Linked DNA regions of Homo sapiens: region 2 is linked to region 1. Evidence: promoter capture Hi-C in 16 types of primary human blood cells and fetal thymus (Javierre and others, 2016). All regions are on one chromosome and are shown on one strand. The core of a region is centred on a gene start or on the middle of the fragment in contact, and the rest is flanking DNA. Distances in the headings are between cores, read along the strand shown.

The links. Contacts are between HindIII fragments. The CHiCAGO score rates a contact against its expected background, and 5 or more counts as called.
Region 2: a contact is called between a fragment that was not itself captured here and the fragment with the promoter of RALGAPB in region 1, in 1 of 17 cell types (erythroblasts). The highest score is 5.3, in erythroblasts.

Annotation. Positions count from the first base shown.
Region 1 is chr20:38,470,443-38,474,803 of GRCh38, forward strand. RALGAPB (Ral GTPase activating protein non-catalytic subunit beta) reads left to right here and starts at 2,401. Exons shown (of 30, transcript NM_020336.4): 1 at 2,401-2,627. RefSeq lists an enhancer at 2,122-2,191 and a silencer at 2,482-2,681. The HindIII fragment of the contact is 2,916 bases long and covers 1-2,798 here.
Region 2 is chr20:37,183,809-37,188,169 of GRCh38, forward strand. RPN2 (ribophorin II) reads left to right here. Exons shown (of 17, transcript NM_002951.5): 2 at 372-565. Among named protein-coding and RNA genes, the nearest start is that of MROH8, 6.4 kb to the left of the region's middle. The HindIII fragment of the contact is 6,975 bases long and covers 1-4,361 here.

The DNA of each region.
Region 1 (4,361 bases), core at 1,151-3,650:
AGTTAGAGATCATGCCGTGGAACAAATTTGAATTGTGCACTATGTTTGGAGATCCAAAATGTTTTACTATGTGTAGCATCTCATGTGTCTCTTAAGTTTATTGTACATGTGTGCTTTTCTCAAATGTTTCAAAGTGTTCTAATGTTTAGTCTTTAATTTTCCCTCAAGGTATATGTGCGTATGTGTGTTTTATTTTTATGTTTGTTTAAGTGAAGACTTCAAAAGTTTTAAAAAATTAGCAAAGAGTGCAGAAAAAACATATCTTTTATGCCAGGCACAGTGATGTGTGCCTTTAGTTCCAGCTACTTGGGAGGCTGAGGCAGGTGGATCGCTTGGGCCTGGGAGTTTGAAGCCAGCCTGGGCAACATAGCGAGGCCCTGTGTCTTAAAAAAACAAACCATCATTTAGAGAACCACTCACTTGCATCTCTCCTCCACCAACTTGCACCTAATATTAAATCTTGTCTTTCTGTCCAGAGCAGTAAGTCTTACTGCCTTACATGTTATGTAAAAACCATATTTTAAGCAAAATTATTTGTTTGTATAATTTTCTGTTGCATCAATATATTTTTTCTGTTAAAAATATTTAGGTGCCTTAGGCTGGAATTGAACACAATTTTGCCCATTTTAATTAATGGGAAAAATTTAACAGCTTTCCACTTAGAAGCAGAATTTCAGGAATGAATTGAAACCACTAGAAGGGTGATAGCTGTATTTTCATCATCTCCCCAAGGGCTTTGGGACAGCTTTCCCATCCTCTGTGCCTGTCACTTTTCCAATTCCCATCACCCGTTGTTCTTCCAGTTAGTCACCCCTCCCTTGTCTGTTACAGGGGTTCAGTATTAATTGTGTTAGAATGCATCTGGTTGCAAGTAACATAAAACTCAACAAACTCTGGTATATATAAGATCCCTCATCCCGATAAGACAGGAAGGTAGTACAGGGTTTGTGTAGCTGCTTGAGTATGACTTAAACAAACAGGCTCCTGTCTTTCTGCTCCACCTTCCTCAGCACAGCCCTCCTCATGGCCTCTAGGCTGCTGTGCTCCCAGGTGTTACCCAGTTCCAAGCATGAAGCAGGGGAAAAGTGAAGGACACAAACTTCTCCAAGGGAAGAAGGAAGGGAAGGTCTCCTTTGATACTTCTGCCTACATCTCAGTGGCCAGGACTTTGTCTCACTGCCACCCTTAGCAGCAAAGAAAGTTGAGAGTTGTGTGCTTTGCTTTTCAGCCCCTGTAGTATAGAAAGGCAAGGGAGTGGTTGAAATAGATCTTGAGTTAGCCAACTACATAATTTGTCACACTGTGTTTAATTGAAATGTATTGCTTGGATCCAGTGTCCTGGACATAGCCTCGTTCCTGTCCTAGCACATTCTTACCCTCCTTTTCCCTCTTCCTTCCTGTAGCTATTTTTCTGGGGGGTGAGGTGTGGTCTTGAGGAAACACTCTTCAGTTTTACCCTTTCTGTGAGGATACTAGTTCCCTTATCACTCATTCCTCCATAGTCTCTTCTAACTGAGGTGAGGAGTCAGAATCTTCTTTGCTCCCTTCTGCTTTTCAGACAACCGTGCCTTCACCTCTACTCAACACCCTGACCCCTCCTCCCTCTCTCAATACCCAAGGTCAGTCTCAAGGCCAGGTCCTCCGTGAAGAATTCCACCATCCCTCCCTCCTCTTCTTTCTCAGTCCAAGTTTCCTCCTTTAGATTCTCAAAGCACTTAAGCTGTACCTCTCCAATGGTATTATTTTCTTCGTTGAAGTGAAAGCAAATTATTGAAAGTGGTACTGTTTACAAAATGTCTAGCGCATGGCAGGTGCTCGAAGTAGTATCTCTTAGTATTATTACTACTGTCTTATCTCGATCAGATTCAGCTCTTTAATGAGAGGCTCTAAATCTTATGTTCGATTCACCTTTGTAACCCACACCGGGCCTGGAATAGAGCACTGTTCATAATTAATGCTGTGCCCGTGTAATAAGACGGCGGCGAGCAAAGGGCATCATTTCAGAGGAAGAGTGCTGTAATGGTGGGATGGGAGAAATTCCTAGAACCTAGGTGGGAGCCAGAATCTTGCAGAGAAGCCCCTTATCCGTCTGCACCGAAAGCAGGTAGAGTGGATGCCGTAAGATTCCTAAGGACGCAGGTAGAGCGCCTCCTCTGTGCCGCGATGAGGTAGGTGCATCCGTCACTTCACTCCTCCCTCTCCACTTGATCCGGAATGGGAGGAACGCAATGCGTCCCGCGCGGCGATCTGGGATAGCTGCGCAGGCGCAGCTTCCGGCTCTGTGTCTCGGGAATTATTTGACGCCACCGGTTCAGCCCCGTAGAAAGCTCTGATTAGGCGCACCGCGCACGCGCAGTGGCCCACTTGGCTGGGGAGTTATTTGACGCCGCCGCCCCTGGCAGTCGGAAGTTGCCTGAGCAGATCCCAGCCGGCTGGCTCGAGTGGCCTTCGTCGTCCCTTGGCGCCCTGGGAGAGTCGCTGACGGGTGGACTGACGGACCGCCTGAGGACGGCCGGCCAGGGCGGTGAAAGCGCCAGCCCTATGGCGCGGGTCGCGTGAGGCGGAAGGCCGAGGACGGCCGGCGGCGGCGCCCGCCCCGGCGATGCGGGCCCCGCCCGTCGCCTCAGGTAACCGGGCAGCCGGCCCCGCCGCGGCCGGACCCTCCCCTCTCCTTCCCTCTCTTCCCCACCTGGCGGTCAAGGGACGGCTGAGGCTTGTTTCTCGGCTCTGGGTGCTCCAGGGGCCCGGCCTTTGGAAGCTCATCTGCAAATTTTTGGGAGACCCACGGGGGCGGGGAAAGCTTGGCCCTGGAGTGGGCGGCTGCTGTCGAGTCTGTGTAAACCCGGTCTAATCCTTGGGAGCTACCCCGGCCAGGCGAAGCTCTCTCCTGGCAACCTGGGGGAGGGGGCGGGTCTGGAGCGGAGCTAGACAACTCCCGCAAAGAATTTGGTCCAGCAGAAAGGTTAGGCAAGTTGCTGCCGCCCAGTGGGGACGATGCTGCCCATTGCACAGTGACACTTTGATGAGGGAGAGTTGATGATGGGAGTAAACAGCTAACCCCCATTAAGCGCTTCTTATCCGCCAGGCATCATGCCAGGCCATTACGTTCTCCACGTCTAACTTCACAGCAACCCTGTGAGGTAGGATTGTTGTCCCCATTTTACTGACGAGGCAACTGAGTCCCTGGGTGGTTGGGTGACTTAATTACCCAAGGTCACATAGCTAGTAATTTGAACCGGAGCATCCGACCCAAGTGCTTAACAATTAGGGCAGTGGCTCTCCAACTTTGCTACACTGTAGAATCACCTGGGGGAAATTGTAAAGGTTTCTGATGCCCATGTGGCATCCCAGACCAAAACAATCAGAATGTCTGGAGTTGAAAGCCAGACTTCAATATTTTTTTTTTAAAGATGCCCAAGTGATTCCAGCTTGCAGCAAAGTTTGGGAACCGCATGTAATTTGATAATTCTGCATCTCAAAAAGCATCTCTCTTTCTCCAGCTTAAGTGTGCAGGAGAATTGTCTGGGAGCTTGTTAAACTTGCAGGTTCCACCCGCAGAGATCTTTAGGTTGACTGACCACTACACCTTGTGAAAGACTGTTAGGGATGGAATTCTCTGCAGGGATTCTGAGTCATCTGGAACATTTAAAATGTATGCATCTTATGCAAACTGCTCGTTTGCAATTTTCCTAAATATACAGTACTTATAGGTGTAGCGTCTGTAACCTCTGGGTCGTTTTTACATATGCTGGAAGTCTGCCTAGACCATCCTCTGAACGTTCTGGCCATCCCACCCAAACGCACACACTTCTGCTCTCTCCTATATGCATATACACACCCTTTTCTTTTCTTTCTTTCTTTTTTTTAGACAGAGTCTTGCTCTGTTGCCCAGGCTGGAATGCAGTGGCATGATCTTGGCTCACTGCAACTTCCGCCTCCTGAGCTCAAGCAGTCCTCCCACCTCAGCCTCTCAAGTAGCTGGGACTACCACGCTTGGCTAATTTTTGAATTTTTTTTGTAGAGATGGGGTTTCTCCATGTTGCCCAGGCTGGTCTCAAACTCCTGGGCTGAAGCAGTCCACCCACTATGGTCTGCCATAGTGGTGGGATTACAGATGCGAGCCACTGTGCCAGGCCTACATACCCTTTTCTTCCTGTCTCTGGCTGCATTAGCTTTAAGCATTCCCTTCAAGATACCTCTGTCCCTGACCCCTACCCACCTTGAGTCCTTCCAATTTGCTCTTTAGGAACATCGTAGTGAAACTTATCAGTTATTTTTCTGAGTTGTAGTTCTATCCCTACTTCTAGATTATGAGAAGCTTTAGGGCAGGGACTATGTTTTCTTCATCTCTGTATTCCTTC
Region 2 (4,361 bases), core at 1,155-3,654, 1.3 Mb before region 1:
GAGAAGAAGCCAGAGAGCAACAGATAGCGGGAAGCGCGAGGGAGGAGATCTGGTTGAGAGGCTGGCAAGGTGTGAGGATTCAGGATTGGGTTTGTCCTTAGAGGCAGAGGACTTACAGACATCTTTCAGATGGGAATAGTAGGATAAGGCCTGTGCTTTAGATGCTTGGAGGCTGCTGGGAGGACTGTCCTTCCACCAGTTGAAGAGCAGGCTCCCTGCCTTCCCAAGGCTTCTCCTCAGGTTAAACCCCTGGATTCCCTCGCCCTTCCCCATGTGATTTGGTTCCCAGATCTTGGTGTGCATCATCATTGGGACTGTGTATAGCACCTTGGAAGAGTGTAGAGTGTACTGAATGGTTGTTTCCCCCCAAGGTTCAAGCACTGTCTTCCTGTTGGCCCTGACAATCATAGCCAGCACCTGGGCTCTGACGCCCACTCACTACCTCACCAAGCATGACGTGGAGAGACTAAAAGCCTCGCTGGATCGCCCTTTCACAAATTTGGAATCTGCCTTCTACTCCATCGTGGGACTCAGCAGCCTTGGTGCTCAGGTGCCAGATGCAAAGGTAAGGCTGCTTTTGTCCTGGTGGTCAGGGTGGTTCAGGAGAACCTTCATCCCCTCACTATATTCCTTTGGGGTAGTTCAAAACTAACTCTTGCTCATTTGAGGATAACCAAGGTTAATCCAATATAAGAAATATTTGGCCAGGCGTGGTGACTCACGCCTGTAATGCCAGCACTTTGGGAGGTCTAGGCAGGTGGATCACGAGGTCAGGAGTTCGAGACCAGCCTGGCCAGTGCAGTGAAACCCTGACTCTGCTAAAAATAGAAAAAATTAGCTGGGTGTGGTGGTGCATGCCTGTAATCCCAGCTACTCAGGAGGCTGAGGCAGGAGAATCGTGTGAACCCAGGAGGCAGAGGTTGCAGTGAGCTGAGATCCCGCCATTGCACTCCAGCCCAGGCAACAGTGTGAGACTCAGTCTCAAAAAAAGAAGTTTATTTCAGTTTGACAGATCTGTTTTTGTTTTTGTTTTTTTGCCTAATGTATGTTAAGGATCATACCAGATCAGTTATTTTTAGTGGGATGTCAAGAAGAGCAAGCATAGATCATCTAGAAACTTTTACTTCAGCTCTGGGAGTGAGACTGTCCAATAACACATGTACTTACTAAGTGCCCCCCTATGTGTGTGGCTAATAATAAGGGAATTCAAGGTGGAAGGCACTCACATGTATTAAATAATGGTAGTCACTACATCAGGCAATTTTGATACATGTTTTTGGACTTCTGGTGAGGAAAATGCATTATGATTAAAACCTTTCCTGGATTCGGGACAGTCTTTTTTTTTTTTTTTTTGAGACAGAGTCTGGCTCACCCAGGCTAGAGTGCAGTGGCATGATCATGGCTCACTGCAGTCTCTGTCTCCTGGGCTCAAGCCATCCACCTCAGCTTCCCTAGTAGCTGGGACTACAGGTGTGCACCACCATGCCTGGCAATTTTTGTATTTTTTCGTTAGAGATGGGGTTTTGCCATGTTGCCCAGGCTGGTCTTAAACTCCTGGGCTCAAGTGATCCACCTGCCTCAGCCTCCCAAAGTGTTGAGATTACAGGTGTGAGCCACCACCTGACCAGGAACAGTCTTAAAGTGAATTTACATTTTATTCATTATAGTAGTATGGACAACTAGACTAAACAATTTTCCTTTGCCAAGTTTCTCATATCTGCCTTAGTTTTCTTTGACTGAAGAACAAATTACCATAAATGTAGGGGCTTAAAACACCACCGACTTATTGGCTTATATGGCTTATAGTTCTTTATTTTATTTTATTTAAGAGAGGGTCTCACTGTGTTGCCCAGGCTGGAGTGCAGTGGCTATTCACAGGCATGATTATAGCACACTATAACCTCGAACTCCTGGGCTCAAGTGATCCTCCTGTCTCAGCTTCCTGAGTACCTGGGACTATGGGTGCATCCCACCGCACCCCGCTGTTAGCTGATAATCCTGCAGGTCAGAAGTCTAGACAGGCTTGCCTGGGCCCTCTGCTTAGTGTCTCCTGAGGTCAAAGTGAAGGCATTGGCCAAACTGGGCTCCTCCCGGAAGCACTGGAGAAGAATCTGCCTCCAGGCCCATTCATGTTGTCGTATTGTCAGCAAAATCCAGTTCCTGTGGTTGTGGGCCTGAGGTCTCCATTTCCTTGCTAGCTGTCTGCTAGGAGTTGCTCTCTGTTCCTCAAGGCCATTGGTATTTCTTCTCACATGGCCCCTCCACCTTTAAACCAGTAATGGCATGGTGAGTCCTTACTCTTCAATTCTCTCTGACTTCCTCTTCAGCCACCAGCCAGAGAAAACTGCTATTAAAGGGTTCACCTGTTTGGGTCAGCCCACCTGGATAATCTCTGAATTGTAAGGTCAGCTGACTTGGGGCTTTAATTATACCTGCAAAATCACTTTATAACAGTTCCTAAATTTGTGTTTAAATGAATAATCAGTGGATGGAAATCCAGGGGGAGGAGTATGAATGTCTTTAGAATTCTGCCTACCATTTCTTGTATTAGCATGGAAATGACTCCAAATCTGTAGGGACTTTAGGCATACACTACTGCACCTGGCTTGCTGGATGGAGTGTCTTCAAGCAAATATCAGACATATTGTTGTACTTGTATCTCTTATTCTATTTATTTATTTATTTTGTAGAGATGAGGTCTCGCTATGTTGCCTAGGCTGGTGTCATGAACTGACCTCAAGCAATCCTCCTGCCACGGCCTCTCAAAGTGTTGGGATTACAGGCATGAGCCATTGTGCCTGACCAACAGTAATTCTTTAATGTCATTTAATTCTCAGTCTATGTTCAGTTATCTTGAGTTATCTCAAAAGTGTTTTTTACAGTTAGTTGGCTTAAATCAGGATCTAAAGAAGGTCTACACATTCCATTTTTTGCTGGTATCTCTTAAGACTCTTTTCACCGATAATAGTTCCCATTCCCTCTTTTCTCCCCATACCATTTATTTGTGGAATAAGTCAGGTCATTTGTCCTGGAATATTTTCCACATTCTGCCTTTGATTAATTGTATCTTCATGATGTTTTTGAACATATTTCCCTATCCTTTGTATCCCTGTAAACTGATAGTTAGCTCTTGAGGCTAAATTATATTCAGGGTTGGTTTTCTTGGTGAAAATATTTCACAGGTGGTGCTGTGGACTTCCTATTAATAGATACATAATATCTGGTTATTTCACTTTTAGTGATGATGAAGTTGTAAATTAAGGTGTTGTCAGACTAATCTATCGCTTATAAATAGTATATAGTAGGGATTTGTTTTTTCATCCAGTCTGATAATTTCTACCTTTTGATTGGGGAGTTTATTCCATTTATTTTTTTATTTTGATTCTTTTTTTATGTTTAAGATCAATCATTTGGCGGGGCGCGGTGGCTCAAGCCTGTAATCCCAGCACTTTGGGAGGCCGAGGCGGGCGGATCACGAGGTCAGGAGATCGAGACCATCCCGGCTAAAACGGTGAAACACCGTCTCTACTAAAAATACAAAAAATTAGCCGGGCGTAGTGGCGGGCGCCTGTAGTCCCAGCTACTTGGGAGGCTGAGGCAGGAGAATGGCGTGAACCCGGGAGGCGGAGCTTGCAGTGAGCCGAGATCCCGCCACTGCACTCCAGCCTGGGCGACAGAGCGAGACTCCGTCTCAAAAAAAAAAAAAAAAAAAGATCAATCATTTATGTTTAATTATATTGTTGGGTTTACATCTGTCATCTTGTTATTTGTTTCCTATTGGCTTACCTGTTTTTCCCTCTCTTTTCCTGTCTTATTTTTATATTTTATTTTGTTTTATTTTATTTTTTTGAGACAGGGTCTCACTCTTGTCACCCAGGCTGGAGTGCAGTGGTGTGATCTCTGCTCACTGTGACCTCTGCCTCCCGGGTTCAAGTGATCCTCCCATCTCAGCCTCCTAAGTAGCTGGGATTACAGACGCGCACCACCATGCCTGGCTAATTTTTTGTATTTTTTGGTAGAGATGGGGTTTCACCATGTTGGCCAGGCTGGTCTTGAACTCCTGACCTCAAGTGATTTGCCCTCCTCGGCCTCCCAAAATGCTGGGATTACACGCGTGAGCCACTGCGCCCAGCCCCTTGATTATTTTTAAATATTCTGTTTTATATCTTCTATTGACTGTTCAGATCTAATTTTTTTTTAGTGTTTGTCTAGTTTTGTTTAGAGATTTTAATATGCATCCTTAATTTCTCACGGTATATCTTGAATTATTATTTTGCCATGTCACAAATAGTAAAAGAACCCTATAACTGTATTTGCATTTAAACTCTCATCATTTCTGCTATCATTGTCATACTTTTTGT